Linked DNA regions of Homo sapiens: regions 1, 2, 3, 4, 5 and 7 are each linked to region 6. Evidence: promoter capture Hi-C in 16 types of primary human blood cells and fetal thymus (Javierre and others, 2016). All regions are on one chromosome and are shown on one strand. The core of a region is centred on a gene start or on the middle of the fragment in contact, and the rest is flanking DNA. Distances in the headings are between cores, read along the strand shown. Region 1 holds the start of ALG1 (ALG1 chitobiosyldiphosphodolichol beta-mannosyltransferase). Region 2 holds the start of TFAP4 (transcription factor AP-4). Region 3 overlaps DNAJA3 (DnaJ heat shock protein family (Hsp40) member A3). Region 4 overlaps HMOX2 (heme oxygenase 2). Region 5 overlaps HMOX2 (heme oxygenase 2). Region 6 holds the start of ZNF500 (zinc finger protein 500). Region 7 overlaps CORO7-PAM16 (CORO7-PAM16 readthrough).

Region 1 (3,939 bases), core at 1,437-3,936, 300 kb after region 6:
ATGTTTGTTTACAAGTTTTTGTTCGAAAACCTGTTTTTCATTCTCCTGGGTGTATACGTGGGAATGCCATTGCTGTGTCACGTGATAATTCTATGTTGAACCTAATGAGGGACCATACGACTGTTTTCCACAGTGGCTGGGCCATTTACGTGCCCACTGGCAGAAGATGAGGGTTCCTTATGTACTGCCCCATGAAATTTTATTTTACTTGTTTATTTTTTTGAGACAGGGTCTCGCTTTGTCACTTAGGCTGGAGTGCAGTGGTATGATCATGGTTCACTGCAGCCTCGACCTCCCTGGGCTCAGGTGATCTTCCCACCTCAGTCTCCCGAGTAGCTGGGACTATAGGCACACGCCACCACCATTTTTTGGGTATTCTTTGTAGAGATGGGGTTTCACTATGGTGCCCAGGCTGGTCTTGAACTCCTGGGCTCAAGTGATCCTTCCGCCTCAGCGTCCCAAAGTGCTGGGATTACAGGCATGAGCCACTGCTTTCAGCCTTCATAAAATTTTAATACTGCAGATATACTGCATGCTTGTGTATTGTATCATTATCTGTGCTTTATACATAAAAAGGGTAAGGATGTTTTGCTCCCCAAGAGCCATTTTTGCCCCCTTGGGAGCACCACTGGGAACAGAGGTTCTAGGGGAAGCTTGTCATTGTCATTACTTCTGTTAATCCTTGATCACCCCTCAAGTGGGTGCTCAGTCAACTTGAACAAAATCTGAGGCTCCAAGGGAGATTGAGTGACTTATCCATATATCCTCTTGATTGTTGGAAAGACTGGATCTCATGTGGAATGGATGCCAAGTGAGAAAGCCGGACAGGTGGGCTGGCCCAGCTATGAAACCGCCCCCCTGCTGGGGATGGCTCCGTCCCCTCTCTCCAGGAGACACCACGGCAACTCCCTCCCCGACGGAGGTTCACCTACCAGAGGGAGGCATCTACTTTTGGTTTGTCATCACCATAGTCTTTATCCTCTTAGCTCATCAGAGCAGGACAGGCTCTCAAAGACTTGAAGTTCCCCTCCCTTAATTCACAGACGAAGAAAGCAAATTGATGGGGAGTGACTCGCCCGAGGTGGAGCAGGAAAGCCAGGAGTCCTGAGGCTGAGGTCCCAGATCCCTACCTGTCCCATTACAGAGCGTCGACAGAGTTGGGCAGGCGATGTGTCACAGGCCTCCACCCCAGCACACGCAACCTGGAGGCAGGGGCCTCGCTGGGAACTGGAGGATAAATGCCGCTGCCAGCATGTTTGTATGCCCATCCCTGCTGTCTGCAGATACTTACTCGTCCTTCCTTTCCTTCTGAAAGCTCGGGTTTCAAGGTCTGGCTTAAGGCGTGAGCTGTCCCTTCTGAATCCATAGAAAGGGAGTGATGGGGCAATTGTGAAAAGCAGATGCAAAGTGTGCCAAGCCCTGAGCTGAGCCCAGGGACACTGGGGAGCCACATCCATGTGGGCTACCCTGTCCCGTGGGTGCTGCCTGTGGTCCTCATCAGGGGAGGAGTCTTGTTTGTTTGTTGAATACGGTCTGGGTGGTGGCTCTCCAGGTTCTGCGGCAGCTCCCAAGTGGAGGCAATGGGGTAGCATCACCAGTGAGCTCTTGGTGTTTCTCTGCAAGGGACCGCTTTCAAAGAAAAAAGGTCATGATACGGTTTGGCTGTGTCCCCACCCAAATCTCATCTTGAATTCCCATGTGTTGTGTGGAAGGGACCCAGTGGGAGGTAACTGAATCATGGGGTCAGGTGTTTCCCGTGCCGTTCTCGTGATAGTGAATAAGCCTCACGAGACCTGATTGTTTTATAAAAAGGAGTTTTCCTGCAGAAGCTCTCTTTTTGCCTGCTGCCATCTATGTAAGAGGTGACTTGCTCCTCCTTGCCTTCTGCCATGATGGTGAGGCCTTCCCAGCCATGTGGACCTGTAAGTCCATGAAACCTCTTTCTTATGTAAAGTGCTCAGTCTCGGGTATGTCTTTATCAGCAGCATGAAAACGGACTAATACAGGCCATCGCAGAGACACACATTAAACTCTCACTATGGCTACTTTGGGAGGTGAAATTGGAGGGTCACTGTGGAAATTTCCTTTCTAGCCATTGATACTTAAGCAAAATCATGATGGTGTTTACTTCCTTGTTTGTCCTTCCCCCTCTCTACCTTTTAAATGTTTTATTAAGTGTGATGTACACCCTGGAAAATGGGCAGGTAATCTGCTGCTTGAGGTACCGCCCCAAATGCAGCACACCCACATTACCAGCACCAGATCCAGAAGCAGAACCCACCAGCCCCTAACTTCTAACAGCGAGGACTGGTTTTTATTTACATAGACGGAACTCTACAATTCGTACTCGTCAGCATCTGGCTCCTTTATCAATGTTAGGATGAAATTTATCCAAATTCTTGTGTCACTATATTTTGAAATTATCTTTGAATCCTGAAGAGAGTTCTTAGATCCCAATACAGTAACAGCTTTACTTTAGTCGGGGAAATACACTGGTGTGTAGGGAATCTGGTGTATGTGCGTGTGTCCTACTACTACTAATTCTTGGCCCCGAGGGGCTCCTGGGGGTTCCCCGGGCCCCTGTTAGGGAACCGCGTCCACTTCTCGCCCTCTCGGCCCACTTCGGAGGCTCGGTCTGCGGCTGCGCACAGCGCGAGGAAGCGCGGTCACGTGACTGCTGCGGGCCAGCCAAGATGGCGGCCTCATGCTTGGTCCTGCTGGCGCTGTGTCTGCTGCTGCCGCTGCTGCTGCTGGGAGGATGGAAGCGCTGGCGCCGGGGGCGGGCGGCCCGGCATGTAGTAGCGGTGGTGCTGGGCGACGTGGGCCGCAGCCCCCGTATGCAGTACCACGCGCTGTCGTTGGCCATGCACGGCTTCTCGGTGACCCTCCTGGGGTTCTGCAGTGAGTGGCCAAGGGTCTGGGAGGGACGATGCTCTCTCAGCCGTTGATCCTCGGTTCTAACCGCCCCGGGGAGTCGAGGCGGAAGTGCTCCTTTAGTCGCCGCCTTTGGGCAGCTCTCCGAGATTAGACGAGCGGTTCTGCCCCAGCCTTTCCTGGGTGGGTCTCTAGGTATAGCCGGCGTTAATCTTGCCACGTGTCAGAAGTGTGTTAAGTGAATCCATTGCGTGGTCTCACGTAATTCTCCTAGTAAGTGGAACCCAGGTGCGTGGAACTCCAGGGCTAGTGCTGGTAGCTACGTCCCTGTGCAGCTACCCTTGTCAGGCTATGTCTGAGCTGACAGGATATTTCATTCCTCATCCCTCAACGCAGAGCTCTGCAGACAGATGTTTTCATTTGTTCTTCATGTCCAGCTTTTCCCCACAGTGTGCAGGGCAGCGGTGTCTGCTCCCTCATTATTCTCCACGTTGGTATCTTGAGAGGGTAGCTCAACCCCATCTCAGGAAGAAGTGGGAACAGCACTAGTTGCCTTTAATCCCTGTTTAGAATCTGCTATCCTAGGGTGATGGGGTAGAGTGGGACTTCCTAGGGATGGCTCTGTGGTGGGAAAATTCCACTATCCAGACAATCTAGATTAGTTTAATTGAGCACCTACTGTTTGCCAGGCATCATGTTAAGTGAAGGTAGGTAAGATTCAGGCCCTATCTCTGTGTGCCTCCTAGAGCAATCTGAACAAGAATTGGCCGCATTCTCTGTTCTGGCTAGTGAGGAGCAGAGAGAGGTTTTGAAATATCTTACTTTCCAAAACACTGTCCGTGATTCAGCCTGAGTTGGGAGATTATCTGACTTTAGATTGCTGCTTCTGGTACATTAAAGGGATCATTCTCATTTTTCAGACTCCAAACCCCATGATGAGCTCTTGCAGAACAACAGAATTCAGATTGTGGGGTTGACAGAACTTCAGAGTCTTGCAGGTAGGATGCCGTCAACTCCAGAATCCTCTGAATCCATGGGCTGGGGGCAGGGGGTGTTCGTTTGAAA
Region 2 (4,184 bases), core at 879-3,378, 490 kb before region 6:
CAGTTCCACCACCTGCTGTAGTGGTCCCTTCTCCAGTCTCTGTGTCCGCCTCTTTAAGCGGAATCAAAAGACACTTTTGACTCATAGAAAGATTATGACAACTCAGTGAGAAAATTCTAGCAAAGTGAGTCCCCAGAACATAAAAAGAGCTCAAGAATTTTTTTTACTTATTATTACTGGGCCCTCCAGGTGGGCCTCGTGCAAGGGCCAGCCCTCGGGGCATCCCTGCCAGCTGCCAAACCCATCAACTGGCCCAAGTCTAGGTATTGACTGGGAACTTCAGAGTAGCCTTAAGGTGGGGACCCCCGGGGCAGAGGGTTGGGCAGGAGTGTCTACACGTGTGCAGCAACCTTCCCTCCAGGCCGGATTCTGCAGGCGCTAGCGTCCACCAGCCTGTGCCACACCGGCGGGCTCCTCCTCCCTCAATCCCCGCCCAGACTGCCTCGGGCGGCAGAGCACGTGGCTCCAGCCCTGGGGAGCCATTTCGCTCCTGGAGCAGCGCGGCAGGAAAGGGGCCACAGGTCCCAAACTTGCGCACGCCGTAGAACGCCCACCTCCCCCACACCACGCCCAGGGGGTCGTTCAAAATGCAGATGTCCGGGCCCCAGCGATCAGAGTTCCAGGCATGTGCATTTTAAGAAGTGTGCGGGGTGGTTTGGCTGTGTGTGGTCCTTGAGTCCATCACCCTTTGGGTTTAGAGCAACCTAGGACCAAAGCTTGCAAAGTGGCTTCTGGGGAGGCCTGCGGACCTCGGGCCACCCACCCGGCTGGGGGACCCGACGCTTTCGGTTTACGGCAGGGGGGAGGGGCGTTGGATGGGAAAGTTTGCAGAGGAAACCCACGTGCGGCGGGAAGCTGCCCTGCGAGGCTAGGGGCGGCCTCAGGTGTCCCTTCCCCAAATGGCCTGCCCACCTGGCCTGCCTTGCCCATCGTGCCCGCGGGGGCCGAGCTTTGTGCAGGGAAAGCGTGGCCCAGGAGCGCCTACAAATCCCACAATGCTGCACCAGCAGGACACGGAGAACTACAGCTCCCGCGAGGCCGCGCGCAGAGGTCCGCCTACTCCAAGAGGGCTGCAGAGTCACGTCCAGGCCTCGCTAGTAAACAGCGCCCGGGCGCGGGCGGGCGAGCGAGCGGCAGCCAACGTGCCCCGGGCCGCGGCGCCCCTACCGGCCGCGCGGGCCCCTCGGGGTCCGCCCACCCCCAACACCCACACGCGAGCACGCCCCCGACCCCGCTGCAGCCCCGCTCTGCAAACACGCACAGTGCCCGGCTCCCCGCCCCCACCCCGCGCCGGGAGCCGCGGCATGGCTGCATTGTAGCCGCCCTAGCTACACCCCCACGCGCGCCCCGGGCCCCCAGACCCCCTTGGATGGGGACGACCTCAGATCCCGAGGAAGGAAGGAGAGGAAGGAAGCCGCCGCAGGAGGGGGAAAGAGGAAGCGCGGGGGGGAAGGCCACCAGCACCAAGCATGGCCGGGACTGCTGCAGAACCACGTGGGTCTGTTTGCAATTTACAAACGTCGCGACTCGCCCGCCTGCAGCGGACAAAAGTGGCCGGGGCCGCTTGGGGCCCCCATGCTCCAAGGAAGGAGGGTCCCGGGGCGGCGCGGACCCGGCGTGTGGGGCTGCAGCCGTCCCGGCAGCTAAGAAAGGCTAGCGGGGTCGGCGGCGCGGGCCATGCGTGCGCACACGCGCGCCCGCCCGGGCGGGCTGGCCGGGGGCTGCAGTGGTAGGAAGGGGGTGGGGGGAGGAGGAGTACACACCTACAGAGCCCTCCTATCACTTCTTTCTCTGTTTTCCTGAAATGTTGCAAAGAGGGCACCTTCTGAGTGGGCACCATGAAATACTCCATAGCGATCGGCCCCCCTCCTCTGCACGAGCCAGGTCCCGCGATCAGCCGGAGAATGCAAGATGGAAATCCGAATCAAAGGGCAGCGCCGGACGGAGGTGCAGAATCGGCCGGTCCCAGATGCTGGCGGCGGCGGCGGCGGCGAGGGGAGGGAGGCGGGCGGGAGGGGCGGGAGGGAGGTCTCTCCGGCCTGCCTCCCCGGGCGTGTGTATGTGTGTGTGTGTGTGTGTGTGTGTGTGTGTGTGTGTGTGTGTGTGTGTTTGCAGCTGATCAGATGTCTGTTTCAAGGCGGGAAACAGCTGGTGAAAACTCAGCACTCCCCCGGCCTCCTTCCGCGGAGTAAGGAATTGCATGTAAACAAAGGACTATTTGCAGCGCCCCCCGGGCGGCGCGAGGCCGGGGCGAGAGGGGCGCGGGCCCCCGGGGACCGGCTGCAACCGGGGTCTGCAGGCCTCTCGCGGGGCGCAGGGGGCCGGGGGCCGCGGGCGGGCTTGCGGGGCGCGGCGTGAATGGAGCGAGCTGCGGCCGAGCTACATGCGCCACTATGGGTGATGAGGTCCATCAGCTGACAGGTTGGCAAGCGTTGCAAAAAAAAAAAAAAAAAGGCCAGCCACCGCGCAGGGAGCCCAGCCCGTGCAGCCCGGAGTCCAGCAGCGACTGGCCCAGAGCAGGGTCCGCGCGCTCGGCCGGCCCGCAGGGAGGAGGGGGCGCGGCTGGGTCGGGCGTGCAGCGGCAGCAAGGAAGGCGGCCTGGGGTTCGCGCTTGGGGCTTCTGCTTTTTCACCATTGCAGCTGCACGGAGCGGAGCCTCTCCGGTGTGCTCCCTTCGAGCCGAGCCCAGGGCCCCCTGGAAACTTGCGTCACAGCCACCGCTTCCCACATGTAACTCGGGGCTGACTTCGGAGGCCGGCCAGCTTCCTCCCTCCCGCCTTGCTTAGCTGGCCGCACGGCCGGGACTCCGGATCCTGGGAATCTTGGACCCGGCGACGGGACGGCAAAGGGCGCCTCGGATGCTGGGGCCGCCCTAGGAAGCCGGGGGCCCCGGCAGGGAGGGGAGGGTGGAGGCGGGCCTGAACGGCAGCGGCCCCCGGGCGCAGGCTGCCAGCGCTGCGGGGAGGTCTGCTGGTTGCTGCCGGGTCCCCTGCTATTCCCCCAGACCCGCACTGTTCCCTCCGCGGGCTGAAGGCTGCAGCTTCCCATTCATAACAAAGCCCGTGTGGGACTTGCCCCTCCGCCAGGATGCGCTCCCCAAGAGGGGGTGACGACTTGGGGCAGGGACGGGGACCCTGGCGGCGAGCTTCCGTCCTCCGCTCGCACGCCGCACCTTCCGGCCCCAGGCCCTCCCCTGGCTCCTGGAGGGTTGGCTCCTGGCTCAGGAAGCCCACGCCTGCCTTGGAATGTCCTGGATCCTGCCCACCGCCTTCCAGGTTCCGCCTAAATCGCGCCTCCTAATTTGACTTATTCCTACTAGTAACAATAGTTACTGTTATTATTGGGAAATATTGTTATTAGATGTTGCCAGCACCCGGTGGATGCCGAGCAGTTTTGCTTACACGCTCTCCAATCCTTGAAGCAACCTGTTAGGCAGTTTCTCTAAGGAGAGATCCCAGACCACTTGACCAAAAAAAAGTCTCTGGAAGGCTTACTATGTTTCTACTTAAAAAAAAAAAAAAAAAAAAAAAACTTTCGGCTGGGCGCGTTGGCTCACGCCTGTAATCTCAGCACTTTGGGAGGCTGAGGCGGGTGGATCACCTGAGGTCGGGAGTTCGAGACCAGCCTGACCAACATGGAGAAACCCCGTCTCTACTAAAAATGCAAAATTAGCCGGGGGCCTGGTGGCACATGCCTGTAATCTCAGCTACTCGGGAGGCTGAAGCAGGAGAATCGCTTGAACCCGGGAGGTGGAGGTTGCAGTGAGCCAAGATCATGTCATTGCACTCCAGCCTGGGCAACAAGAGTGAAACTCCGTCTCAAAAAAAAAAAAAAAAAAAAACCTTTTTACTGTTTTTCAACAAATAGAGATAGGAGTCTCACTGTGTTGCCCAGCCTGGTCTTGAACTCCTGGGACTCAAGGAATCCTACCTCTACCTCCCAAATTGCTGGGATTACAAGCATGAGCCATGGATGGCCCTGGTGGGAAGCCTATTTTTAACTGCCCTTAGTGAGCAAGCTATTCTTTTTTTTGTTTTGTTTTGTTTTGTTTTTTAAGACGGAGTCTTGCTTTGTCACCCAGGCTAGAGTGCAGTGGCACGATCTCGGCTCACTGCAACCTCCGCCTCCTGGGTTCAAGTGATTCTTCTGCCTCAGCCTCCCAAGTAGCTGTGGTTACAGGCACA
Region 3 (4,145 bases), core at 854-3,353, 340 kb before region 6:
GTTGCAATCCAGTTTGTAATAGTTACATAGTAGACAATCATTAAAGTATCAGTAATTGTGGTTACTTCATGCAATGTAAAGAAAAGAGCCTGGGCTTCAGGGGTGAACTTCCCCAGCGTCTGTGAGCGGGGTGTATTATTTAACCCCTTCGAGCACCTGTCTGAAAATTCATTCATTCACAGGTGTTAATTGAGGCCAATTGTATGCCAGCCACTGTTCTGGGCACTGAGGAGATGGCAGAGAACAAAGAGATTGGATGTGTGTTTGGTTAAGAGAATGATTATTTATGTATTTAATTATTTTTTAAGACAGGGCCTCCTGTTGCCCAGACTGGTGCAGAGGCACAATTACAACTCAGTGCAACCTTGACCTCCCAGGTTCAATCGATCCTCCATCCTCAGCCTCCTGAGTAGCTGGGACTACAGGCATGCACCACCACACCCAGCTAGTTTTCTGTAGATGGGGTTTCACCATGTTACCCAGGCTGGGCTAAAGTGATTCCCTTGCTTCAGCTTCCCAAAGTGCTGGGGTTACAGGCATCAGCCACTGCACCTGGCCAACAGAATGAATTTTTTTTTTTTTTGAGACGGAGTCTCGCTGTGTTGCCCAGGCTGGAGTGCAGTGGCGCTATCTCAGCTCACTGCAAGCTCCGCCTCCCGGGTTCACGCCATTCTCCTGCCTCAGCCTTCTGAGTAGCTGGGACTACAGGCGCCCGCCACCACGCCCAGCTAATTTTTTGTATTTTTAGTAGAGACAGGGTTTCACCGTGTTAGCCAAGATGGTCTCGATCTCCTGAACTTGTGATCCACCCGCCTCAGCCTCCCAAAGTGCTGGAATTACAGGCTTGAGCCACCGCGACCGGCCTTATTTTTATTTTGAGATGGACTCTTGCTCTGTTGCCCAGGCCAAATTGCAGTGATGTGATCCTGGCTCACTTCAGCCTCCCAAGATGCTGGGCTTATAGGTGTGTGCCACCATGCCAGGCTAGATTTTTCAACATGAGCAAAAGTGGCCATTTTTAGAGCTTGCTAACATTTTCTAATGTCAAGGTTGTTTTAAATAGAATCTGGCTGCATCTTTTCATTCAAATATTAATCCTTAGGTGACTTGTTTTATTAAGCCAAATTTGTTCATGTTCCAGCTGTACAAATTTGGGAGCACTCGTTATTATTGTGTATGTGAAAGAGAGAAACAGGCACTAAACACTAAGCTTTGTGTGAAGCTGTGACTAAGGAACTGCGGTTAGCTGTCTTGTTCCCCAAGTGAGCTCATAACCTGCCATGGGCAAGTTTTATATCAGGTAGTGTACACAGGTGAGAGGTGGCATCCTTCAGGGTACGTGCTGTTTTCACAGATAGAGTCATCAACTGGTTGGGCGGGGTGGCTCACGACTGTAATTCCAGCGCTATGCTGGCGCTGAGGCAGGAGGATCACATGAGCCTAGCAGTTTGGGACCAGCCTGGGCAACATAGGCAGATCCCATCTCTACAAAAAGATTTTTTTTTTTTTTTTTTTTTTTTGAGACGGAGTCTCACTCTGTCGCCCAGGCTGGAGTGCAGTGGCACGATCTCGGCTCACTGCAAACTCCGCCTCCCGGGTTCAGGCCATTCTCCTGCCTCAGCCTCCCGAGTAGCTGGGACTACAGGCACCTGCAACCGCGCCCAGCTAATTTTTTGTATTTTTAGTAGAGATGGAGTTTCACTGTGTTAGCCAGGACGTCTCGATCTCCTGACCTCGTGATCCACCCGCCTCCGCCTCCCAAAGTGCTGGGATTACAGGTGTGAGCCACCGCGCCCGGCCAAGATTTTTTTTGTTTGTTTGTTTGAGACGGAGTCTTGCTCTGTAGCCAGGCTGGAGTGCAGTGGTGCGATCTCGGCTCACCATGATCTTGACTCACCGTGATCTCGGCTCACCGCATCCTCCGCTTCCTGGGTTCAAGTGATCCTCTTGCCTCAGTCTCCTGAGTAGCTGGGACTACAGGCACGTGCCACCACTCCCAGTTAATTTTTGTATTTTTAGCAGATACTGGATTTCACCATATTGGCCAGGATGGTCTCGATCTCTTTACCCATGATCTGTCCACCTCAGCCTCCTAAAGTGCTGGGATTACAGGTGTGAGTCACCGCGCCCGGCCTACAAAAAGATTTTTAAAAATTAGCTGACTGTGGCCGGACATGGTGGCTCACGCCTGTAATCCCAGCACTTTGGGAGGCCTATGCGGGCGGATCACCTGAAGTCAGGAGTTTGAGACCAGCCTGATCAACATGGAGAAACCCCGTCTCTACAAAAAATACAAAATTAGCCAGGCCTGGTGGCGCATGCCTGTAAACCCGGGTACTCGGGAGGCTGGGGCAGGAGAATTGCTTGAACGTGAAAGTCGGAGGTTGCCGTGAGCCGAGTTAGCGCCATTGCACTCCAGCCTGATCAACAAGAGCGAAACTGTGTCTCAAAAAAAAAAAAATTAGCCAACTATGGTGGCAACTGCCTGTACTCCCAGCTGCTTGGGAGGCTGAGGTGGGAGTTTCACTTGAGCCCAGAAGGTTGAGGCTGCAGTGAGCCATGATGATGCCACTGCACTCCAGCCTGGGCAACAGAGTATGACTCTTTCTCTACCAAAAAATTAATAAAGTCATCAACTGAGAAGCCATGTGGTGGCGAGCCTCTATAGTCCTAGCTACTCAGGAGGTTGAGGTGGGAGGATTGCTGGAGTCCAGGAATTTGAATTTGGCCTAGGCAACATAATGAGACCCCTGTCTCTTAAAAAAAAAAATTTTGAAAAGGTCATTAACTCAGCGTCCAAACACTAGTCTGTGATCTTGTCTCAAATCTAGTAGTAAGATGACATAACAACATTTTAGATGTGACTTTTCTTCCAAGCAGAAAGAAAGCAGTTGTTGGTGGCCAGGTATGGTGGCTCATGCCTGCAATCCCATTACTTTGGGAGGTGGGTTGATCGCCTGAGGTCAGGAGTTTGAGACCAGCCTGGCCAAGATGGCCAAAGCTTGTCTCTACTAAAAATAGAAAAAGTTGGTCAGGCGTGGTGGCGGGTTCCTGTAATCCCAGCTACTCGGGAGGCTGAGACAGGAGAATCGCTTGAACCCAGGAGGCAGAGGTTGCAGTGAGCCGAGATCGCGCCACTGCCCTCCAGCCTGGGCAACAAGAGCCAAACTCCCTGTCAAAAAAAAAAAAAAAGAAAGCAGTTGTTGGACAGTGGGTTGGCCATTCTTAGAACGACTTGGAGGCTTATTTTATTCTGGGTTGTTCTAAAAAGGACAGGACATTTACTGGTCATATGTGATAAAATAAATAGTCTATTAAATGAAATCTAATTATTGTTAATCATTGATGCCCTATGGATAATGTCAAAAGTCATCAGACTGGGGATGGTGGCTCATGCCTGTAACCCCAGCACTTTGGTAGGATGAGGCCGGCGGATCACTTGAGGTCAGGAGTTCGAGACCAGCCTGGCCAACATGGTGAAACTTCTTACCTACTAAAAATACAAAAATTAGCCAGGTGTGGTGGTGTGCGCCTATAGTCCTGGCTACTTGAGAGGCTAAAGCAGAAGAATCGCTCGAACCTGGGAGATGGAGGTTGCAGTGAACCGAGATCACACCACTGCACTCCAGCCTGGGTGACAGAGTGAGACTCTGTCTCAAAAAAAGAAAAAACAAAGCCATCAGTCTTGTAATTAAACGTGATTTGTCTTTATCCACATGCAGTTTTGTGCGTTACTATCTCTGTACTAACTCCTGTCCGTGTTCTCTGCCCGTAATGTTGAAGCCACAGCTGCCACAGGTCACTACCAGCCTCCGCCTTGTGGCATTGGAATGAGTGGTGAGAGAGAGGCTGGACTGGGCCGGGCAACCCCTTACTCCGAAATAAAAAGAGGGTTGAGTACAAGTTCAATAATAAGTCAGGTCTAGTGTTTTCTCAAGTCTGACTGAAGAAACACAAAGTGGTCTCCTGACCCCTACTACTTCCAGTGTGCTTTTTGTATCCCGAGGATATTGGGTGTGCCAAACACACGGATTTATTTCCTATTTCTAATTTTAAGTATCCTGACCATTCCTATCCATTCTCCTGTCTGATCATCCTTTACCTGGCCTCCTACTTGGATGTGCTCAACCAACCTCTGGTTGTGT
Region 4 (3,651 bases), core at 706-3,205, 270 kb before region 6:
CCCATGTTAATTCTCTTGATCTTAGTTTCTTCAGAGCCAGTGAGACATTGCTTGAAAGTGACTTAGCCTGGTATACCCAGGTCTGTCAGACTTATAGTCTGGTGCTCTCTTGGGTGAACTTGAGGGCCTTCTGCCAAGGCAGGAATGGCTTCTTTTAAAAAAAAATTATTTTATTATTATTTTTTTTTTTGTAGAGACGGGGGGTCTCACTATGTTTCCTAGGCTGGTCTCAAACTCCTGGACTCAAGTGATCCTTCAGCCTCGGCCTCCCAAAGTACAGAGATTATAGGTGTGAGCTACCAGTACCAGCCTCCAGGAATGGCTTCTAAGGCTTCAGGCTGTTTATAGAGAGGAAAGCACCTGGGAGCTGATGGCACTCTCAGGTTTCCCAAAATGACAGTTCTGCATATGCATCTTAATCACCTACTTTTTTTCCCTCCACCCCCAAATGCTATTCACAGTCCTTGTTTATGATAGAAGCTGAAGCTTACAGGTGACAATTTTTGTGCCTGTATGAAAGGAAACATGACTGACTCCACTTATCCACACGACACCTGCTTTCAAGGTTGTTCAGTGTTGGAATAATTTTTGCTTGATGGTAACCTAGGGATGACCCAAGGTTTCATTAGTTAAAGCCAGCCCTGTGGGATGCATGAAGTCTAGCCTCTGTCCCTGTAAAAATCCCACCAGAACCATTTTAGAATTCACTCAGGACTTCACCCCTCCCGCTCCTGGTGCTGCTTATGGAACTAAAGAATCCTCATCTTCTCAGCCCTGGGACACATTGTCCTCATATAAAGCGAGGTGGCAATCAGGGAACAGGGGCGAGTCTTGTGCTTATTTCAGTTATAATAGGAAGGCTCTACCAGGACTCATCATTGTCCCAACAATAGTCGATTCCAGGCCCCTTCTTTGAACTCATTTCAGTGTCTCAGGTTCTGTCCTTGGTGTCTGTCTTCACTGCTTGCTCAGTTGTATTTGAACATGGCTAGAGATGAGCACACTTCTCTTCTCCAGTAAAAAAGCCTGCAAGAAAAGTCTTGGACTTCTTGAACTGCTATTCAGTTGTCTTTTTTATTCAATGTATTTTTTGAGATGGAGGGGGTCTCACTTTGTTGCCCAGGATGGTGTTGAACTCCTGGCCACAAGTGATCCTTCTGCCTCAGAGTTCCAAAGTGCAGAGATTACAGGCTTGAGCTACCACAACCGGTCTCTTGTCAGTTTTTGAGGTTACTTAAGAGGTTAATGCCTTTAAATTAGTTTGCAGTTGTTTTGCTTTTGCCTGCCTTCTTGCCCAAATGCGCAAGTGCTTATTTAGTAATCTGACTCAAGTGCTTTGTGTCCCCAGAGTCCCCACTTTTCCAGGATTCATTGTCTTTTTTTTTTTTTTTTTTTTTTTGAGACACAGTCTTGCTCTGTTGTGCAGGCTGGAGCGCAGTGGCACTGTCGGCTCACTGCAACCTCCACCTCCTAGGTTCCAGAAATTCTCGTGCCTCAGCCTCCCAAGTATTTGGGATTAGAGTCACACACCACCACACCTGGCTAATTTTTTTATATTTTTAGTAGAGATGGGGTTTTGCCATGTTGGCCAGGCTGGTCTTGAATGCCTGACCTCAGGTGATCTACCCGCTCGGCCTCCCAAAGTGCTGGGATTACAGACATGAGCCACCACACCCGGCTGGATTCAGTCTTAACTTGCTCTTTTTTTTTTTTTGCATCTCACTCCCTTGCCAGGCTGGAGTGCAACGGTGTGATCATAGTTCACTGCATCCTTGAACTCCTGGGGTCAAAAGATCCTCTTGCCCCAGTTTCCCGAGTGGTTGGGACTACAGGTGTGTGTCACCACGCCTGGCTAATTATTTTATTTTTCGTAGAGACAAGGTCTGACTGTGTTGCCCAGGCTAGTCTTGAGCTCCTAGGCTTAGGTGATCCTCCCACCTTGGCCTCCCAAAGTGTCAGGATTATAGGTGTGAGCCACTGCACCCAGCCTGGATTTGCTCTTTTATCAAGAGGTTAATATTTATTCTTCCGTTCAGTGAACCGTGGGATTGAATTCCCCCAGCGATTGAAATGAAAGGGCTTATGTATAACATTTCCTGAGGAATGGTAGTACCAGAGTTCAGAGGAGACCTCAGGCCATTTATTCTATAAACTCAGAAGCTGTAGTTCTAGATGATGTGGCTTCTTCAGGGTGTTGAGAAGTCTCTGTTATCTCGTGCCTTGTTGGATTAGAACTGATTGAGCTCTGTCTGCTGCCCCAAACATGTGGCTCAGCCAATCTCCAGTGGCATCTGCAATGTGGGTATTCTAGCCTCCAGTGCTCACGTGGCTCACCTTAGAAAGGGCAGATATTCCTATTTCCTGACGCTGCTGGAGAATGAGGTCTGAGTCAGAAGTCCTCAGGTGTGACCTGCCCAGAACTATCTGAAATTGCTGGATTTCTTGTTCTTCCTCAGTGTTTAACAATCACCCAATTGCTCATTCTCACCAGCGACTTCCTCAGTAAGAGCTCAATATTTGAGGTGGTGCTGCATTTTGTCAAACATTCATGCGTGTTAGCCCACTTAGTCTTCGCAGCACACAGTGGATTAATGGATTTTTAAAAGCTGGTATTTATGCACGATGGAATACTACTCAACCATAAACAAGAAGGAAATTCTGTCATTTGTGACTACATGGATGCATCTAGAGGACATTATGCTAAGTGAAGTAAGCCAAAGAAAGAAAGACAAATGGTGCATGATATCACTTATATGTGAAATCTGAAAAAGTCAGTTATAGAAGGAGAGTGTAACATGTTGGTTACCAGCGGCTGGGGGAAGGGAAGGGTGGGTGTGGAAAGGGGAGATGTTGATCAAAGGGTACAAAATTTCAGTTAGGAGAAATAAGGTCTGATGATCTGCCTTACAGCATGGTGACTATAGTTAATATGGTTAATATTATAATAGTATTGTATACTTCAAAATTGGTAAAAGAGTGGATTTTAAAAGTTGTCACCACAAAGAAATGATAAGCATGTGAGCTGATGGATATGTTAATAACCCTGATTTAATTATTCCCCAATGTATACATGTGTCCAAACATCACACTGTACCCCATAAATATAATTGTCAGTTAAAAACTTAGGAGTCAAGTCAGATCTGAAGAGAAGTCAAAACAGATTTCATACAGTTAATTTAGAGACATGGGACCCAATTAAAAATTTGTATTACTTTACTTGGTATTTTAGAATTTAGCTGTTATTTTCTTGTTACACACACAGGCACAGGCACACAAATCCTCTATTTAACTGGCTTTCTCAGTAGGAACTCCATCTGTGTATTTGCAACAGCTGTAACTCAGGTTGGATGCTCCCCAGGGTGCTGGCCTATAAGTCATATTGGACCCTGATCTGAATCTGAGGGAATCTGGATCTCTCTTGTAGGAAGCTTTTGGTTTAACTGGGAAGACAGGATGACAGTCAGTTGTGGAAGCTGAAGCGTAATCACCTCATATTAATATGGTGGCAATTTTATATCGGAGTGAGCTCTGAGCTGCAAACAGCCTTCTAGGAAGCAGGCAGGGGACCCCCATCCAGGGTGATGGTAAGAATCCTGATGCCCAACTGCAAGGTGTTCAGCAGGGAGGGAGCACTCGTGGAGTCCCAGTGCA
Region 5 (3,999 bases), core at 1,087-3,586, 290 kb before region 6:
CAAAAGGGGGAACGTGAGCAACTCTAGAAATGCCAGTGCCAGTGAGTTACAGACAATAAAGCATTGACCGCCTTTAGCTCACCCCTCATCAAGTCTGTTGAAAACTTGTAAAATTGGACAGCTAGAGCTACCTTGATTTTTTGGTTTCCTTTTAACAGCTGACTCTCTTCACAGGACAGTTGGGCTCTACATCAGGATTGCACCCAAAACTGGAATATCACTCCTCCAGGAGGAAGATATATTTGAAAATTAGAATTGTGGGCCCGGTGCAGTGGCTCATGCTTGTGATCCCAGCACTTTGGGAGGCCGAGATGGGCGGATCACCTGAGGTCGGGAGATAGAGACCAGCCTGACCAACATGGAAAAACCCCATCTCTACTAAGAAAAAAATAATAATAATACAAAAATTAGCTGGGCATGGTGGTGTGTGCCTGTAATCCGAGCTACTTGGGAGGCCGAGGCAGGAGAATCACTTGAACCTGGGAGGCAGAGGTTGCGATGAGCCAAGATTGTGCCACTGCATTCCAGCCTGGGCAACAGGAGCAAAACTGCATCTCAAAAAAAAAAAAAAGAAAGAAAGAAAATTAGAATTGTGTATTTCACTGTAAAATTTGAAATTCAGCTTTAACTCCTTGGAAAGGAAAGAGATGAAAAACTTGACCTAGACTGGGTGCGGTGGCTCACGCCTGTAATCCCAGCACTTTGGGAGACCAAGGCGGGTGGATCACCTGAGGTCAGGAGTTCGAGACCAGCCTGGCTAACATTGTGAAACCCCGTCTCTACTAAAAATACAAAAATTAGCCTTGCAAAAAGTAGCCTGTAATCCCAGCTACTCGGGAGGCTGAGCAAGGAGAATTGCTTGAACCTGGGAGGCAGAGGTTTCAGTGAGCCAAGATCATGCCATTGCACTCCAGCCTGGGCGACAAGAGCAAAACTTCATCTCAAAGAAAAAAAAATTCTATCAGAGTGAACAATAAGTAGGATGCTAGCACATACCTGTAATCTCAGCTACTTGGGAGGCTGAGGCAGGAAGTTAATACTTGATGAGCCTAAGTTTTTGGTGTCTTTGGATGCTGCTTGTCGATCTAAGGGGTTTCCAAACGCTTCTTTTTTGGTAAAATTGGGATTATGACTAGGAATCTGTTTTTTGGAGTTTCCCAGGTGATCCTTGTTTGGGGTCCTTGTCTAAGGCACAGGCTGGAAAGAGGAGGGAGTGGACTGGCAGGGAAGATAGAGCAGTAAGCGAATAGAATACCTGGGGAAAGGGACGCCAGAAGAGTGATTGTTGTCTGGTGAACTGTGCTGTCAGTGTGTATGTCAGAAGCCAACAAAGTGGATATTCTCTTCACTCAGCTTAGGGAAAAAATTAATTTTTGTTTCACAGATAGATTCGTTTCCTTCCCAGGAGTATTATAGGCCTAATTACTGTCATAGTTCTCAGTAACTTTAAAAAGGCTGTGGGGAAGAATGGCATAACAGACTAGTATCTTGTACCCAGCCTGCCTTTTTCTTATTCTATTTTTTTTTTTTTTTTTTTTTTTTTTTTTTTTGAGACAGTCTTGCTCTGTCACCCAGGCTGGAGTGTGGTGGCACAATCTCAGCTCACTGCAACCTCCGCCTCCTGGGTTCAAGCGATTCTCCAGCCTCAGTCTCCTGAGTAGCTGGGATTACAGGCGTATGCCACCATGCCTGGCTAATTTTTGTATTTTTAGTAGAGATGAGGTTTCACTATGTTGGCCGGGCTGGTCTCCTACTCCTGACCTCAGGTGATCCGTCCACCTTGGCCTCCCAAAGTGCTGGGGTTATAGGCATGAGTCGCTGCGCCCGGCTTTTTTATTTTTTATTTTTTATTTTTTTGAAACAGAGTCTGGCTCTTTCACCCAGGCTGGAGTACAGTGATCTGATCTGAGCTCACTGCAATCTCTGCCTCTGGGGTTCAAGCAGTTCTCCTGCCTCAGCCTTCCAAGTAACTGGGACTACAGGCATGCACCACCATGCCTGGCTAATTTTTGTACTTTTGGTAGAGATGGGGTTTCGCCATGTTGGCCACGCTGGTCTCCAGCTCCTGACCTCAAGCGAACCACCCTCCTTGGCCTCCCAAAGTGCTAGTATTACAGGCGTGAGCCACAGCACCCGGCCTTTTTTTTTTTTTTTTCCTTAGAGTCTTGCTCTGTCACCAGGGCTGGAGTGCAGTGGCGCCGTCTCGGCTCACTGCAACCTCTGCCTCCTGGGTTCAAGTGATTCTCCTTCCTCAGCCTCCCTAGTAGCTGGGATTACAGGTGTGTGCCACCACACCCAGTTAATTTTTGTATTTTTAGTAGAGACGGGGTTTCACCATGCTGGCCAGGCTGGTCTCAAACTCCTGACCTCAAGTGGTCCACCCACTTTGGCCTCCCAATTAGAATTAGAGGTGGAGCGACCGTGCCCGGCTAAGGGCCTACTATTTTTTTTTTTTTTTTTTGAGACAGAGTTTCACTCTTGTCACCCAGGCTGGAGTGCAGTGGTGTGACCTTGGTTCACTGCAACTTCCACCTCCCAGGTTTAAGCGATTCTCCTGCCTCAGCCTCTGGAGAAGCTGGGATTATAGGCGTCTGCCACCACGCCTGGCTAATTTTTTGTATTTTTAGTAGAGACGGGGTTTCACCATGTTAGTCAGGCTGGTCTCAAACTTCTGATGTCAGGTGATCCACCTACCTCGGCCTCCCAAAGCATTGGGATTACAGGCGTGAGCCACCGCGCCCGGCCAGGCCTCGTATTTTTGCTTTTGCTCATGTTTTCATGTCTGAGATAGAGGGCCTACTATTAAAGCACTGTGCTGAGGCTGCAAGAAGGTACTAGTGTGATTAAAACAATCTGGTCCGGGCGCGGTGGCTCGCACCTGTAATCCCAGCACTTTGGGAGGCGGAGGCGGGCGGATCACGAGGTCAGGAGATCGAGACCATGCTGGCTAACACGGTGAAACCCCGTCTCTACTAAAAAATACAAAAAAAATTAGCCGGGCATGGTGGCGGGCGCCTGTAGTCCCGGCTACTCGGGAGGCTGAGGCAGGAGAATGGCGGGAACCCGGGAGGCGGAGCTTGCAGTAAGCAGAGATCGCGCCACTGCGCTCCAGCCTGGGAGACAGAGCGAGACTCCGTCTCAAAAAAAAAAAAAAAAAGAAAAAAATAAAACAATCTGGCATTATAATGCCATCCTGATTTTAGTTAATCTAGTTGACTGGCTGGCCTCATAAGTAGCTGTGATGATCATAATTTTTATGCGAAACACCTGTCATTGAGCATACAGGTGTACTGAAAGAATTGGGTGGAACAGGGTATTTGAAATCAGAATTGTTCTGGAAAGTCGGGTACATAAAGCTCTATCTTTAGCACAGTTGTCTGTATTGCACAATTAATATTTATAGAATGGTACACCTTATGTTATCTTTTTATTTTTCCACCTAACTCTCTCTCTAGATTGAAAGGTACTTGACGTGCAGAGCAAGATCTTATCTTTCTTTGTAGTCACAGTACTCAAGAGGGTGATAAATGTTTGTTGATGATAATGTAATGTCACCTGTCCAAGTGTAGCCATCATCTTCAGTAGTTACTTGATCTGCTGTTGTGTCTGGCAAGACTGCTATGTGCTGCTGCAGAGGAGCCATTGTCACCTTGAACTATCTCTGTGGCAGTCTGGAGGAGGGCAGGAGGGAGAAGGGAAGGAATAAATGAGCAAAGCTGAGTGTGGATAGTAGTGTTTGACGGCAGATGAAAAAGCAAACTTGGTGAAGTGTGGCCTGGGTGGTCATCTAACTTCTACCTAGAAGACATTAAACCTTTACTCTCTTCTTTTTATGTAGGAAGGCAGAGGGAAAGTCAGGCCTTCGGTTGGCTTGGTAATAGCAGGTATCCCAGTAATTAGAAAATAACTTAAAAAACTCCATTCCTCTACCATATACTTGAGAATTTGTCAATCTCAGCAAAATTTTCAAATGTCTGTGTTCAGTGTCATATTTGTCCT
Region 6 (4,192 bases), core at 1-2,500:
GGATCTCTTCCTGTTCCAGGTCCTGCTCCAAGGTTGGCAGGGGCTGGAGGCCAGGGACAGTGGCCATTGCTTCCGGTGGGCCTTGTTCCTTTTCAGGCCTTAGAGTTGAACCTGTCTCTCTCTATACCTCTGGCCAGACACAGGAAGAGAGTTTTTTTCAGGGCCCTGTGGAGAGACGATAAAACCATCTGAAGGGCAGCCCTGGGGCTGGATAAGCCCTTTGGCCTGGGAAGCCCCTGCCCTGGTTCCAAGGCCAGCTCACCCCACCATGGAAAAGGAAAAGGAAGTGGATGAATGTCATCTTTGTTATTAACCCCCTGTTAATTCCCGGGTAATTTACTGAAGGGCTCTGGGCTTTGCTTCCTCACTGGGCAAACAGAGATGATAACAGGACCTACACACACAGGTTGCTGACAGAACTAAAAGGGATGGCTGGGGGCAGTAGCTGACGCCTGTAATCCCCGCACTTTGGGAGGCAGAGGAGGGCAGATCACGTGAGTTCAGGAGTTGACCACCTGGTCAACGTGGTGGAACCCTGTCTCTACAAAAAATACAAAAATTAGCCCGACATGGTGGTAGCACATCTGTAATCCCAGCAACTCGGGAGGCTGAGACAGGAGAATCGCTTGAACCCGGGAGATGGAGGTTGCAGTGAACTGAGATAGCGCCACTGCACTCCAGCCTGGGCGACAGAGAGAGACTCAAACAAAAACAATCTAAAAGGGATGTTTGCGGTCAGAGCTCGAGAATCGTTATTTTCCATGATTAGAGTGGGTCCTATATGGAAGGGGTTCCTTTGGAAATCTGATGAAAAGTAGGGCCTTTCTGCAGACTCTGCCTCAACTTGATCCCCGGTGTCCAGGTCTGGCGAACCCTGAAGCCCCTACGCGGCCCCGTCAGGCACCCCCGCGTGGGTGGTCACGACAGCCCCCCAATTCCAGGGTCCTGGGAGAGCTGGGACCCCCAGGCCGGGCTGCTTTCCCGTCTCATCCCTCAGGTGGAGGGTGAGCGGTACCCGAGGCCGCGGCACAGACCCGGGTGCTGGCGCGGGCCGCGAAATCGAAGCTTCGGCCGGGACCCGCGTCCCCGCGCCCCCCGCACTCACTGGAAGCGCTGCCGGCCGTGGGCAGTTCGGGGCAGGACCGGAGCGGCGGGTCTCGGCGGGAGTAGGACTGCGGGCCTCAGGCTTGGCAGCCAGGGACGCCAGAGCCGGGGCCGAAGACCCTAAACCAGGGGTGCAAACCAGGCCGTGCGGGTGGGCCCGCAGGCGGCATTGTGGGTAACGTAGCCGTGGCACCATTGGCTAAGCCGGCCGTTGGGGGCGTGGCAACACGGCCGAGTGGGCGGGTCCGCGACGTGCACTGTGGTTAATGTGGTCCTCAAAGGCACGCATTGTGGGTAACGTAGTCCAGCACCTCGGTGACCGCGCGAGCGTGCGGCGACTCTGCAGCCTCTGGGCTACTTTCCCAGTCACTGTTCCACACCCGCTCCGCTCTCCTCTGGCCGCCTCCTCCATCTTTAAAGCCAGCAAAGTCGTCCGGGCACGGTGGCTCACACCTGTAATCCTAGCACTTTGGGAGGCCGACGCGGGCGGATCACCTGAGGTCGGGAGTTCGAGACCAGCCTGACTAACGTGGAGAAACCTGGGCGTGGTGGTTCATGCCTGTAATCCTAGCTACTCAGGAGGCTAAGGCGCAGGTTGCAGTGAGCCGACATCCTGCCATTGTCCTCCAGCCTGGGCAACAAGAGCGAAACTCCATCTCAAAAAATAAATAAATAAATAATAAATAAATAAAATAAATAAAGGCAGAAGTTGTTCAAGATAAAACTGGAAGAGATGCCAAGTGCTTGCGCCCACCCTCCCCCAAGAGGGCCCCCAACAACGTCCAACCCCAAATATCCCTTGTCCTGCCTGCTTCTTTCTGACAACATAATAATGGGCATCAATCTTTGTTGTTGTTGTTAGAGATGAAGTCCCACCATGGTGCCTAGGCTGGTCTCAAACTCCTGGGCCCAAGCAATCTTCCCGCCTCAGCTTCCCAAAGTGTCAGGATTACAGGTGTGCCCAGCCAGGTATCAATTCTTGTATGTATGTATTTATTTATTTAGAGACAGGGTCTCACTCTGTCGCCCAGGCTAGAGTGCAGTGGCTCGACCTTGGCTCACAGCAACCTCCGCCGCCCGGTTTTAAGCAATTCTCCTACCTAACCTCCCGAATAGTTGGGATTACAGGCACGAACCACCAGGTCCGGCTAATTTTTGTATTTTTAGTAGAGATGGGGTTTCCCCATGTTGCCCAGGCTGGTCTCCAACGGCCTCAAGCAATCCACCCACGTCAGCCTCCCAAAGTGCTGAGATTACAGGAGTAAGCCACCGCTCCCGGTCGCATCAATTCTTGAGCATCAAGCAAGCAAAACACATTTGTACTTCGTTTCTTCCTCATTTAGTAATAGAGGTACTATAACTAGACCTACCGGTTCAACAAAACAAAACAAAACCCTGAAGCTCTGAGAGTTTTAAGTATTGAACCCCCCAGAGAAGGTCAAACAGGAAGTACAGAAATGGGATTGGAACCCAAATCTTTGATTCCAGAACTTCAGCTCCTAACTACCAGGTTAACGTAGTTTGCCCCTAATCCTAACTTGGGCATCCTAAGGCCCGTCTCCTATGCTGGATTCTCGCTGCTTTTCCTCTTTGGTTGAACATGATCCGGAGTTTCCCTCTGCCTGGGGTGCCCAGGAAAGAGTCCCAGCACCGAGTTCGGGTGAGCAGCAACGCAGCATACACAGCAGGCGTACACTCAACGTACGCCCCGCCCCGCACAAGCTCCGCCCCGCATGCGCGCCCCGCCTCGCATCCCGGATCTACCCCCGGAATCTCGCGCGTCTTTCCCAAAGCATCGGCTAGGACTCAGCCCGCCGGAAACAAATTTGGGGACGCCGGATTCAGGAAGCTGGCAGGACTACATTTCCCAGAGCGCCCCGCGCCCTCCCCGGAGGCAGATTCCTGGGCGCTCTAGAGGGGGTGGGTTGGCGGCCTGGAGGGTCTCCTCAAGTGGCGGCACTGCCAGGGGCTCGGAGGAAGGGGCTGCAGTCTCCCGGTGGCAGCGTCCTTGTCGTCGAGACTGCGGGCGGTTCCCTTGCGCGCCCTGAACCTCAGTTTCCATATCTGTTAATGGGGGACATTAACCCTCAAGGTTGTAACTCATTCAAGACCATTCATCCAGGCATAATAAATGCATAAACGCTGCACGTTGAGTCCTCCCAACTGCCCCCTTAACTAGGCGCTCGGGTGATGGAGTGGTGGCAGGTGCCTGCTTTCATGGAGCTTGCCATGAGAGGCATACAGTGGACAAAATTACCATGAGAGGCATACAGTGGACAAAATTGCACGAAGAATTGTTTAATCACTTCTTTGGCAAATGTTAGCAAGCGGCGTAAAAGAGGGAACCTGATACCTTCAGGGTGGAAGTGACAGTTGAGCAGCCTAGGGTTAACCTGGGGAACCGGTGGGGAGGATTCCAGACAGCAGGAGTGAAAAGTGCAAAGGTCCTGGGGCCGGAGAGAACACGGTGCGTTTGAGGAACAGAATGGAGACCAGAGATTGGGAGATGTGGCTGGAGGGATGGGCAAGGCCTGACCATACTTGGAGACTCTGGTGAGGATTAAGGATTTTATCCTTGGAGTCAATAGAGTTTGGGGTTTTAAGTAGGATAGCATCGTGATCAGATAAGAAGCTTTGTGGAGTACAGATCTCAGAAAGACTGGAGAGGAGCAGTGAGACTAGCTGGAAGCTCCTGGAGTGGTCCAGAGTTGGGGTAACTAGTGATGGTGGTAGTCACTGACAAGGATCTGGCCAAGATTCCTGGAGCACATTCAACAGTGCTTGGTGGTTGATTAGCTTGGGGTGGAGGAGGGAGACAAGGATAACTCCTTTGTACAATGGGGATGGTAACATCACCTGCAGTAGGCACCATTATGGTAAAGAGACAGAACAGAACGTCAGACACATATAGGCTTAATATGTCCTAATTCTGTTAGTAATAAAGACTACCTCTGTGTTCAGGGCAGTGTTGTTTGTAATGGCAAAACCGAAAACAGTCTAAATGTTAGTCAACAGGAGAATGATGGATAAATCTCACGGAGGCTATGCCAAACAAAAAAAGGCAAGTGGCAATATGATACAATTTTCA
Region 7 (3,906 bases), core at 1-2,500, 420 kb before region 6:
AACCTTTACTTTACCAACGGGGAAACAGATCTGTCCTAATTCTCCCAAGTCCGAAGACTTTAAGTCCATTCCATTCAATAAAACAAACTTACTATGCAAACCTGTTTCCATCTTCAAGGAGCTAAAAGCCCACTAGGAGGGTATTTAAACACACTATGGACCAAATCATGAGGGAGAGTCAGGCTCGTTCATTTGTGCAGCCATTGGTTCACCCATTCATTCAAACATCTGCTGAGAGTCTACTCTGCTCAGCACTTGAGCACAAAGCTACACAGAACCTGGTCCCTGCCCCGAGTCAGAGCACACTGCTGGCCTGGCAGGGAACCCCACTGTCACACACCAGGCTGAACATGCCGGAACACTGCACGTGTGATTCCATGCCCCGCAGAGGCCCTGGGGACTCACTAAGATGTGAGCGGAAGCAACAGAGTCGAGGGAAAACTCAAGACTGAGATGGGATTCGGTGAGAGGAGGGGGTTCTGTGTGAGAGGAGGGCGTTCCGTGAGAGGAGGGGGTTCCGTGAGAGGAGGGGGTTCCGTGAGAGGAGGGGGTTCTGTGAGAGGAGGGGGTTCTGTGTGAGAGGAGGGGGTTCTGTGAGAGGAGGGGGTTCCGTGAGAGGAGGGGGTTCTGTGTGAGAAGAGGGGGTTCTGTGTGAGAGGAGGGGGTTCTGTGTGAGAGGAGGGGGTTCTGTGAGAGGAGGGGACTGTGTGACAGGAGGGGGTTCTCTGAGAGGAGGGGACTGTGTGAGAGGAGGGGGTTCTGTGAGAGGAGGGGGTTCTGTGAGAGGAGGGGGTTCTGTGAGAGAAGGGGACTGTGTGAGAGGAGGGGGTTCCGTGAGAGGAGGGGGTTCTGTGAGAGGAGGGGGTTCCGTGAGAGGAGGGGATTGTGTGAGGGGGGGTTCTGTGAGAGGAGGGGGTTCCGTGAGAGGAGGGGGTTCCGTGAGAGGAGGGGGTTCTGTGAGAGGAGGGGGTTCCGTGAGAGAAGGGGGTTCCGTGAGAGGAGGGGGTTCCGTGAGAGGAGGGGGTTCTGTGAGAGGAGGGGGTTCCGTGAGAGGAGGGGGTTCTGTGAGAGGAGGGGATTGTGTGAGAGGAGGGGATTGTGTGAGAGGAGGGGGTTCTGTGAGAGGAGGGGGTTCCGTGAGAGGAGGGGGTTCCTCCTGGGCTGGGCTTTGCAGGGTAGGAAGAATCATGATGGAAATACTAGGGCTTTCTAGGCAGAGGGACTGGGTTGAGCCAAAACTGGCAGGAGAGAAGGCAGAAGGGAGTTCCTGCGAGCAGCCAATAGCCTAGGCTGGCCTGGGAAAGACTGGGAATCTGGCGGATGACATGGAAAGATGCACAGATCTTTGTGAAACAAAGCGATTATATATAGACAGCACATACAAAGGATCTTGTGACTGCAAAGCCGTAGACGCAGGGGGGTGGCGCGGGCTGGAGGCAGCTCGGCATAGGTTGAAAGCTCATGTGGCACAGCCGAGTGACTTTCCCTTTCTTCCTAGTGCTTTTCTGTAGATTTGCCTTCAGTCAACAAGTATCAACTGAGTCCACACACCAGGCACGGTGCCAAACACGTTCAATTCATTGTGCCGTTTAATTCTGACAACTCAGGGGTGGGGGACTGCTGACTGGCCCGAGGACGTAACAGCAGGTGCCTCGGAGGCAGATCGGAAACCCAAGGCTGGTGCTATCTGTCACAGCAGTCACTACGCAGGGTCCCGGGGTCTGAAGGTAGGGCACCTGGGCAAGCCGACAAGTATCAAGAACCCAACCCCGAGGCCAGAGGGGCTTGCTCCAGATTCCAGTGGATTCGACTCCAGAGCTGGCCTTGTTCAGCCTCCGAGGACCTGCTCTTTCCTTAACAGGTGGGATGTCATTATGGGCCATTAGGGGAATGAACAAACAAGTGGGTTAAGATTTCAAAAGTAGGTGGAAACTTCATAACTTCTGGATTTCACAGCAGAAAGAGCCCAGAGAAGACCCTCCTGTGATCACAGCGAGGGGCAGGGCTGTGGCTGTACTGCAGATGAGGGAGGGTCAGGGATGCACCTGATGACACCTGCGGTCTCACCTGACTTCGCCTCCTTCCTAAAGCCCCTCCCGAGTGGAACAGGAGGCTCAGGGATGGGATGCTGGTGCTGTCTGAAGGACAGAGGTGAAAGTCAGAGGGTCCCCTCGGCTTGAAACACGGCTCAGGTCTCAGACTACCCCTCACACCAACAGCCTTCGGTCCCTCTGCTGCCATCGTACAGCCTTGCAATCACTTGTTTACTTTTCTGCCAAGGCCAATGACTGTTGCAAAATAATGAACGGTAAGAGCTGAGGTCATAACTGGGGAGCTTCCCCGACCATCCCCTGCACACTTCAAACCAAAGCGGCGTGGTGGCCTGTGGCTTCAGCTGCCTAGAGCTGCAGGGCAGAGGGGGGCTGGCCTGCAAAGTTTCAGCAGACTGGACGGCCCATTGAGGCCAGCAAGGTTCCTATAGGAGGCATCTCTGAGAAGACGCAGTGTAGTGTAATGGTTACACCTGCAGGCTTTGGGATCACCTGTGTGCAAAAATCCCAGCTATCTGACATAGACACGTTCTCAACTCCTTTGAGCAACCCAGTTTGCTTACCTGTAAAATGTGGCCACCAATAAAGCTGAGATAATGCCTGTCAAATGCCTGGCACACAGCCTAATGGTACAGCAGGTGCTCAATAAACATTGGTTTTCATTCATTACTACTGTTTCACAAAATCTGACAATGACCAGGCACTATGAAGTAACAAAGCTTCTTTCAAAATAGCAGCTCATTTGATACAGGCCCTTTGCTTCCTCAGGGGTGAAGGCTGCAAAACACCATACTACATTCCCTCAGGGAGCTGGGAAGCAGCAAGGAAGCAGAACGAGAACCACGTTGACCTGGGACCAGAACCCTAGCTTTCTTTCTCAATAGCTGTGTGACCCTGGACAAATTACTCAACCTCTCTGAATCTTTTTTTGTTTTGGTTTGGGTCTTTTATTTTTTATTTATTTTTTTGAGACTGACTCTCGCTCTGTCACCCAGGCTAGAGTGCAGTGGTTCAATCTCGGCTCATTGCAACCTCCACCTCACCAGTTCAAACGATCCTCCTGCCTCACCCTCCCAAGTAACTGGGATTACAGGTGAACACAACCAAGCCTAGCTAATTTTGTATTTTTAATAGAGACGAGGTTTCACCATGTTGGTCAGGCTGGTCTCAAACTCCTGACCTCAGGTGATCCACCCGCCTCGGCCTCCCAAAGTGCTGGGATTACAGGCATGAGACACCACACCTGGCCTTTTTTTTGGAAGCAGAGTCTAACTCTGTCGTCCAGGCTGGAGTGCAGTGGTGCAATCATGGCTCACTTGCAGCCTCAGCCTCCCAGCCTCAAGAGATTCTCCTGCTTAAGCCTCCCGAGTAGCTGGAGCTACTTGTACTCAGCCTCCGAGGACCTGCTCTTTCCTTAACAGGCGGGATGTGATATGGGCCATTAGGGGAATGAACAAACACAAGTGGGTTAGGATTTCACAAGTAGGTGGAAATTTCATAACTTCTGGAGGCTGAGCACACGCCACCACATTTGGCTAAATGTACTTTTCTGGAGAGATGGGGTTTCGCCATGTTGCCCAGGCTGGTCTTGAACTCCTAGGTTCGCATGAACTGCCCTCCTCGGCTTCCCAAAGTGCTAGGATTACAGGTGTGAGCTACTGTGCCCAGCCTACCTCAGTTTTCTTAACTGCAAGATGGAGAGAATAACACCCTCCTCACAAGAGGACAGTAAGGCCCTCAGGAGGCAATGCCCATTAACACCACATGGACAAACAGCGGCAGGTCCAGAACTAGGCGGTGCAGGCAAGCCCCTCATCCACCTATCCAGTACCCCAACATCCCCTGAGCTTCTGCC

What was found. The method cuts DNA at HindIII sites, captures the fragments that hold promoters and counts their contacts. A CHiCAGO score of 5 or more calls a contact.
Region 1: the fragment with the promoter of ALG1 here is called in contact with the fragment with the promoter of ZNF500 in region 6 in 1 of 17 cell types (activated CD4 T cells); the score reaches 5.6 in activated CD4 T cells.
Region 2: a contact is called between the fragment with the promoter of TFAP4 here and the fragment with the promoter of ZNF500 in region 6, in 1 of 17 cell types (fetal thymus). The highest score is 5.9, in fetal thymus.
Region 3: a fragment that was not itself captured here is called in contact with the fragment with the promoter of ZNF500 in region 6 in 3 of 17 cell types (neutrophils, fetal thymus and monocytes); the score reaches 5.9 in neutrophils.
Region 4: a contact is called between a fragment that was not itself captured here and the fragment with the promoter of ZNF500 in region 6, in 2 of 17 cell types (M1 macrophages and erythroblasts). The highest score is 5.3, in M1 macrophages.
Region 5: a fragment that was not itself captured here is called in contact with the fragment with the promoter of ZNF500 in region 6 in 7 of 17 cell types (erythroblasts, neutrophils, monocytes and 4 more); the score reaches 8.7 in erythroblasts.
Region 7: a fragment that was not itself captured here is called in contact with the fragment with the promoter of ZNF500 in region 6 in 1 of 17 cell types (naive CD8 T cells); the score reaches 5.8 in naive CD8 T cells.

Annotation. Positions count from the first base shown.
Region 1 is chr16:5,069,157-5,073,095 of GRCh38, forward strand. ALG1 (ALG1 chitobiosyldiphosphodolichol beta-mannosyltransferase) reads left to right here and starts at 2,687. Exons shown (of 13, transcript NM_019109.5): 1 at 2,687-2,901; 2 at 3,795-3,872. The coding sequence starts at 2,694. RefSeq lists enhancers at 2,717-2,776, 2,807-2,916, 3,087-3,146. The HindIII fragment of the contact is 10,202 bases long and covers 652-3,939 here.
Region 2 is chr16:4,270,895-4,275,078 of GRCh38, forward strand. TFAP4 (transcription factor AP-4) reads right to left here and starts at 2,129. Exons shown (of 7, transcript NM_003223.3): 1 at 1,764-2,129. The coding sequence starts at 1,852. RefSeq lists enhancers at 346-1,322, 864-1,053, 1,954-2,003, 2,300-3,275 and silencers at 1,134-1,293, 1,654-1,703, 2,424-3,073. The HindIII fragment of the contact is 8,835 bases long and covers 715-4,184 here.
Region 3 is chr16:4,427,387-4,431,531 of GRCh38, forward strand. The region is part of intron 1 of DNAJA3 (DnaJ heat shock protein family (Hsp40) member A3); the gene reads left to right. Among named protein-coding and RNA genes, the nearest start is that of DNAJA3, 3.6 kb to the left of the region's middle. The HindIII fragment of the contact is 1,791 bases long and covers 1,209-2,999 here.
Region 4 is chr16:4,496,686-4,500,336 of GRCh38, forward strand. All of the region lies in intron 1 of HMOX2 (heme oxygenase 2), which reads left to right. Among named protein-coding and RNA genes, the nearest start is that of HMOX2, 22 kb to the left of the region's middle. RefSeq lists a silencer at 3,623-3,651. The HindIII fragment of the contact is 2,942 bases long and covers 485-3,426 here.
Region 5 is chr16:4,478,209-4,482,207 of GRCh38, forward strand. All of the region lies in intron 1 of HMOX2 (heme oxygenase 2), which reads left to right. It overlaps LOC124903636 (a long non-coding RNA gene), which reads right to left. Exons shown (of 3, transcript XR_007064964.1): 2 at 3,556-3,671; 3 at 1,056-1,353. Among named protein-coding and RNA genes, the nearest start is that of HMOX2, 3.8 kb to the left of the region's middle. The HindIII fragment of the contact is 5,105 bases long and covers 1-3,999 here.
Region 6 is chr16:4,765,912-4,770,103 of GRCh38, forward strand. ZNF500 (zinc finger protein 500) reads right to left here and starts at 1,251. Exons shown (of 6, transcript NM_021646.4): 1 at 1,106-1,251; 2 at 1-165. The coding sequence starts at 67. RefSeq lists a silencer at 998-1,297 and an enhancer at 2,490-2,569. The HindIII fragment of the contact is 2,671 bases long and covers 1,064-3,734 here.
Region 7 is chr16:4,343,719-4,347,624 of GRCh38, forward strand. All of the region lies in intron 27 of CORO7-PAM16 (CORO7-PAM16 readthrough), which reads right to left. The region is part of intron 1 of PAM16 (presequence translocase associated motor 16); the gene reads right to left. Among named protein-coding and RNA genes, the nearest start is that of PAM16, 5.6 kb to the right of the region's middle. RefSeq lists a silencer at 1,216-1,416 and an enhancer at 3,631-3,906. The HindIII fragment of the contact is 3,035 bases long and covers 1-2,768 here.